Regions from separate parts of the Homo sapiens genome. Here region 1 is linked to region 2. Evidence: promoter capture Hi-C in human tissues and cell types (Jung and others, 2019). All regions are on one chromosome and are shown on one strand. Each heading gives the region's core, a stretch centred on a gene start or on the middle of the fragment in contact. The rest is flanking DNA. Distances are from core to core; before and after follow the strand shown.

Region 1 (3,121 bases), core at 88-2,587, 320 kb after region 2:
TGTCACCCAGGCTGCAGTGCAGTGGTGTGATCTTGGCTCACTGCAGCCTCCCCCTCTGAACTCAAGTGATCCTCCCACCTCAGTCTCCTGAGTAGCTGGGACTACAGGAACACTCCACCATGCCCAGCTAATTTTTGTATTTTTCACAGAGACAGGGTTTCACCATGTTGCCCAAACTGGTCTTGAACTCCTGGGCTCAAGTGATCCTCCTGCCTCAGGCTCTCAAAGTGTTGGGTTTACAGGCGTGAGCCATGCACCCAGCTATCTGTTTACTCTTATAGCCCCCGCACAGTACCTGAACACAGAAATATTGGTGAATGACTGAGTGAAAGGGACAGGCCTGCAATGAAGTGTCGACATAACTCCCCGTCTCTTGCCTGCTTGTTTTCCCCCAACCTCCTTCAGCCTCAAGTCATTTCCTTCAGCTCCTAAATTCATCAGGCTTATGAGAGAATCTGCATCATTTCCTCTGTTTCCCTGCTAGGATGGAATTTAGAATTCAGATGCTAAGATGTAAAAGGAAGGAATAAAATTGAACATGGAAAGAAATACTGAATACAGAATACTCCCCCGAGTGGCTACCCATCTTCACTGTAATCAGTAATCTCAGTGTGCAACTGTTGAGGCTTGAGTTTACACGGCAATAATCCTCTTACCTTCTAATCAAGATCACTCCAATAGCTTTGCAGTTAGACTTCCAACTGCATTATGCATTCACAAATTATTTCTTTGTCAATGCTGTATTGGTACAATTCTAATCTCCTAGGGATTAAACACAAGTATTCATTCTTCTTTATCCTAATATAGTTTATCTCCATCAAAGTTGAATTTTTATGTTTTCCATGCTAATTCCTTTGTGTAATTAATAGTCCATTTAAAATGAATAGCAATTAAGAGAAAACACCTATATGTCTGTATGTTGTCTACTACAGTCTTTTCTGATTCAATGAGTTCTTGACTACTTAGAAGAGGCATGTATAATTTTTGGATTTTTCTCATATATTTTTTCTCCTCTTCTTTCCTCTTATTCACTTCTGAGCAATTTCATCCTTTACTAACAATGCCACAAATGCCAGGTTGGTATGATAGATGAAAAGATGTAAAAATTGCAATAATACTTTCTCTCAGGGACTAATGTATCGCATAGTACATGCTATGCTGTCAGAGTTGACCAAAGAAGAAAAGTCTTTTCAGCCAGGTACCATGGGCCACACCTGTAATACCAGCACTTTGAGAGGACAAGGTGAGCCCAGGAGTTTGAGACCAGCCTGGGCAACGTGGTGAAACTTCATCTCTACAAAAGTTACAAAACTTAGCTGGGCATGGTGGTGCACACCTGTAGTCCCAGCTACTTGAGAGGCTGAGGTGGAAGGATCGCTTGAGCCTGGGGGGTCAAAACTGCAGTGAGCCATGATCATGCCACTGCACTCCAGCCTGGGCAACGGAGCAAGACCTTATCTCAAAAAGAAAAACGTCTTTTGATATAAAATAGGATTTCAAGTAGATTTAAGCTAGTCATACACTTATTCATTAAAAAGTATTGAACAATTACAAATAAATATTGTTTGGGAAAGTGACAATGTATTTAAAGCCGTACAAAGACTAATTCTTAGTGACCAAGTCTCTGTAGCCCACCCCCCCCCAATGTTTTAACTATTTTAGACAATTGGCCACATGGCATTTCATAATTAAACAAACATGGGTTATGTCTTTTATTTTTATTTTTTTTTAAGATGGAGTGTCACTCTGTCTCCCAGGCTGGAGTGCAGCGGCATGATCTCGGCTTACTGCAACCTCCGTCTCCCAGGTTCAAGTGATTCTTCTGCCTCAGCCTCCCAAGTAGCTGGTGAGAGGTGACAGCGTGCTGGCAGCCCTCACAGTCCTCGCTCGCTCTCCGCACATCCTCTGCCTGGGCTCCCACTTTGGCGGCACTTGAGGAGCACTTCAGCCCGCGGCTGCACTGTGGGAGCCCCTTCCTGGGCTGGCCGAGGCCGGAGCCGGCACCCTCAGCTTGAGGGGAGGTGTGGAGGGAGAGGCGCGGGCGGGAACCGGGGCTTCCCGTGATGCTTGTGGGCCAGCGCGAGTTCCGGGTAGGCTTGGGCTCGGCGGTCCCCGCGCTCGGAGCGGCCAGCGGGCCCCGCCGGCCCCGGGCAGTGAGGGGCTTAGCACCTGGGCTGGCGGCGGCGGAGGGTGTAGTGGGTCCCCCAGCAGTGCCGGCCCACCAGCGCTGCGCTCAATTTCTCGCCGGGCCATAGCTGCCTTCCCGCGGGGCAGGGCTCAGGACCTACAGCCCGTCATGCCTTAGCCTGCCCCCGCCTCCGTGGGCTCCTGTGCAGCCCCAGCCTCCCAGACGAGCACCGCTCTCTGCTCCACGGCGCCTAGTCCCATTGACCACCCAAGGGCTGAGGAGTGTGGGCGCAGGGCGCGGGACTGGCAGGCAGCTCCACCTGCAGCCCTCTTGCTGGATCCACTGGGTGAAGCCAGCTGGGCTCCTGAGTCTGGTGGGGACTTGGAGAACCTTTATGTCTAGCTAAGGGATTGTAAATACACCAATCAGCACCCTGTGTCTAGCTCAGGGTTTGTGAATGCACCAATCCACACTCTGTATCTAGCTAGTCTGGTGGGGACTTGGAGAACCTTTATGTCTAGCAAAGGGATTGTATATACACCAATCAGCACCCTGTGTCTAGCTCAGGGTTTGTAAATGCACCAATCAACACTCTGTATCTAGCTAGTCTGGTGGGGCCTTGGAGAAACTTTATGTCTAGCTACGGGATTGTAAATACACCAATCAGCACCCTGTGTCTAGCTCAAGGTTTGTAAACACACCAATCAGCACCCTGTGTCTAGCTCAGGGTTTGTGAATGCACCAATTGACACTCTGTATCTAGCTACTCTGGTGGGGACTTGGAGAGCCTTTGTGTCCACACTCTGTATCTAGCTAATCTATTGGGGACTTGGAGAACCTTTGTGTCTAGCTCAGGGATTGTAAACGCACCAATCAGTGCCCTGTCAAAACAGACCACTCGGCTCTCTGTAAAATGGACCAATCAGCAGGATGGGGGTGGGGCCAGATAAGAGAATAAAAGCAGGCTGCCGGAGCCTGCAGTGGCAACCCGCC
Region 2 (3,429 bases), core at 643-3,142:
GAAGTAATGAGGGGGAAATGCTTTTTGTGTGTATATCCTGTGGTTTTCTCATTCTTTTTTTTTTTTTTTCTTTTTTTGAGACGGAGTCTCCCTCTGTCGCCCAGGCTGGAGTGCAGTGGCCTGATCTTGGCTCACTGCAACTTTTGCCTCCCGGGTTCAAGCGATTCTCCTGTCTCAGCCTCCCGAGTAGCTGGGATTACAGGCGCCCACCACAGCGCCCGGCTAATTTTTTTTTTTTTTGAGACGGAGTCTCGCCCTGTCACCCAGGCTGGAGCGCAGTGGCACGATCTAGGCTCACTGCAACCTCTGCCTCCCGGGTTCAAGCGATTCTCCTGTCTCAGCCTCCCGAGTAGCTGGGATTACAGGCGTTCGCCACCACGTCCAGCTAATTTTTTGTAACTTTAGTAGAGACGGGGGGGGGGGTTTCACCACTTTGGTCAGGCTGGTCTCGAACTCCTGACCTCGTGATCCGCCCGCCTCGGCCTCCCAAAGCGCCTGGATTACAGGCGTGAGCCACCACGCCAGGCCTAAGTTTTGTATTTTTAGTAGAGACGGGGTTTCGCCATGTTGGCCAAGCTGGTCTCGAACTCCTGACCTCAGGTGATCCACCCGCCCCAGCCACCCAAAGTGCTGGGATTACAGGCGCGACCCACCATGCCCGGCCGATTTCCTCATTCATTAATTCACATATCTCGTCTATTAAATGTGTAATACATTGACAATAATCTATTTCACTGCTGCCTTCTAAATTTTCCTTCTGGGCTGGGCGCGGTGGCTCACGCCTGTAATCCCAGCACTTTGGGAGGCCGAGGAGGGCGGATCACGAGGTCAGGAGATCGAGACCACGGCGAAACCCCGTCTCTACTAAAAATACAAAACATTAGCTGGGCGCAGTGGCGGGCGCCTGTAGTCCCAGCTACTCGGGAGGCTGAGGCAGGAGAATGGCGTGAATCCAGAAGGCGGAGCTTGCAGTGAGCCGAGATCGTGCCACTGCACTCCAGCCTGGGCGACAAAGCGAGACTCCGTTTCAAAAAAAAAAAAAATTTTTTTCCTTCTGAGCTCACCTTTATTTCGTACCAAGGGCTTGAGAATTAGATTCGGTTCAAATGGTTTTCAAATTCTAGGTAAAGTACTTCGTCTGCGAACATTAAAATTGTTAAGCAACAATAAAAGGGCCTCTCAGATTGATTTTTTTCACTAACACTAATTTTTCTTAATTTGTTTGTGACGTGCGCTGTATGTAAAAAGTGACGACACTCCTTTCCGTGTGTTTTCAAACACCAAGCAAGTCTGCTGTGCTCCAGGGCGTTTCGCCCTTTGCCAGGTCGCTGTCCCCATTCGCCCCCTCTGAGAGCCTCCATTTCTCAAGGCAATCCCTGTGACACAAACTTTTTACTTTACCAAGATATAAAAGAACCTTGCTTGTTTATTTTAGGCGTCACTCTTCCCCATGATTGTCTCTCACGGTTGAGCGGCGCTGACCTGATGACACCTGCTCACTGCGTTTTCGTTAAACTCAGCATTTTCACGTAGCCAAGACAGGCGATTCCCAGGCTGGATGGGACCTTACTGTAACTGCACGACTCCGCACAAGTCGCTTTGAAAACCAATCTGCAGACGTTTGCTTGTTCTCCAGACAGAAACTCTGACCCCACACTCACCCTTCCCACCCTAATTCTCGCTCGAAGATTGAAGAGCCTGTGAACTGTCTCCCTAACGCTATCCAGGACAGGCCCAAGACGGGAACTGGACCTTGCGCGCCTAGGACTCCGGCGCCGCCACGTCTGTCGGCGTGCGTGACGCCAGCGCGCTTGCGCGCACGGAGACCCGCCCCCTACATCCGGGGCCTGGGCGGCAGCAGGGCCGCCGCGGGGAGGTCACGTGGCTCCTTCCTTTCCGTCTCTGGCCGGCTGGGCGCGGGCGACTGCTGGCGAGGCGCGTGGGACCTTACGCTGGTTCCCCTTCGTCTCCTCTCCCGGCCCGGGCCACTAGAGAGTTCGCTGACGCCGGGTGAGCTGAGCCTGCCGCCAAGATGCCGGCCTATTTTCAGAGGCCGGAAAATGCCCTCAAACGCGCCAACGGTGAGTAGCTGATCGGGGCGCGCCGGGCTGGGGCGGCCCGAGGCCTCCGAGGTCGAGAGCGCGGGCCTGCTTCCCACTGCTCCGCCGCCCGGCCCGCGCGGGGAGAGGAGACCGATGCGGCCTGCCCGCCGCTGTCCCAGCCGGTGGTTGGGCATGGGTTTCCTTCTCACTCTATCGACTGGGGTCTGGGAGGCGCGTAGCCCGGAACCGTCGCCCCAGGGGCCTTTCCTTCCCCCTGCCGCCTCCGGGTGCGTCGCGGGGACCGCAGCCCGGGAGACAGCCCCTACCCGGACTGGAGCTCCCTCCTTGCTGCCTGCGTCCTCTGGCTCTCCAGGTCCCTGGGGCTTTGGTCTGCTTAGGGCCCGCGTCCCCGGCCGCCATCTGGGAGTGCCGGGGAGTAAGAAACATGGCTCCCTCCCGGGGACAATGCACGCGAGAGCCTCGGCTCCACCTCCTGCCCGGGCCGGGAGCCCTACGGACCCACCCCCGGCCTTCCCGCAGCCACCCCCGCTCTCCAAGCCGCGCTCAGTGCTTTGCTGGGTCGGCGTCCACTTACCCTTTACCCAGCTGCTTTATATCCACTTAGGGGCCTCTGACCCATTTAACCTGATTCCTGTTGTTTTGTTTTGTTTTTGTTTTTTCATTTTTCCTGGCATTGATTAGAAGCAGTCCTAAAGCCTGTTTCGAATCACTGGAAGTTGGAATAGAGTTAATGTAAAGGGACTTCAGGTCGCCTCTTAAAGATAACGAAACAGGCCTAGAGAGAGGTTTCCCCAAGGTCACTCCGGGAGTTGTTGAGCCAAGAGACTTAAAACCAACGTCTCTTGACATCCAGATCAGTCCTTTTTTCTCTTTTTTTCTGCCACAGTGCTGCTGTCTGCGATTTCTATTTCTATATGTGTACTTCAGCCATTGGCGCTTGAGGGAAAAACTTGTGTGCCCCGATCTCTCCAAGGCATTTATTACATTGGCGTTCTGGGGATGCACATGTTCTTGGCTAGGCTCTGGGCTTAAGAAACTTTGTGTAGGGTTTTTTTTTTCCCCTCTAACCGGACAATTTTTCTAATCGTTAGGGCATGGATAGCTCTTATTTTCATCCTTCCTTCACCGAAATAGAAGTTTCGGGTTTTACCCATGTTGTAGATGAATATACCTTGTGAGTTACAGTTTTATGTTTGGAGAGCTTATTTTGTTAGCTTCTTTGAAAATTCATCTTATGAAAATGGCAGTTTGAGTCAGCACATAAACTGATAATTTGGCAGAACCAGAGATATGTTGGTCATATACTTTTTAAAGTAAAAGTAACACTTTTTGTCGGGGAGGGAACTGGTCTGTGGAATAGGATAAT

The links. The method cuts DNA at HindIII sites, captures the fragments that hold promoters and counts their contacts. A contact is called where the count stands out against the background at its distance.
Region 1: a fragment that was not itself captured here is called in contact with the fragment with the promoter of EIF3A in region 2 in 1 of the 25 tissues and cell types used here (dorsolateral prefrontal cortex).

Annotation. Positions count from the first base shown.
Region 1 is chr10:118,759,439-118,762,559 of GRCh38, reverse strand. It overlaps LOC107987151 (a long non-coding RNA gene), which reads left to right and starts at 3,111. Exons shown (of 2, transcript XR_001747604.3): 1 at 3,111-3,121. The HindIII fragment of the contact is 5,852 bases long and covers 1-3,121 here.
Region 2 is chr10:119,079,280-119,082,708 of GRCh38, reverse strand. EIF3A (eukaryotic translation initiation factor 3 subunit A) reads left to right here and starts at 1,892. Exons shown (of 22, transcript NM_003750.4): 1 at 1,892-2,081. The coding sequence starts at 2,033. RefSeq lists enhancers at 1,678-1,972, 1,400-2,162 and a silencer at 2,168-2,427. The HindIII fragment of the contact is 11,678 bases long and covers 1-3,429 here.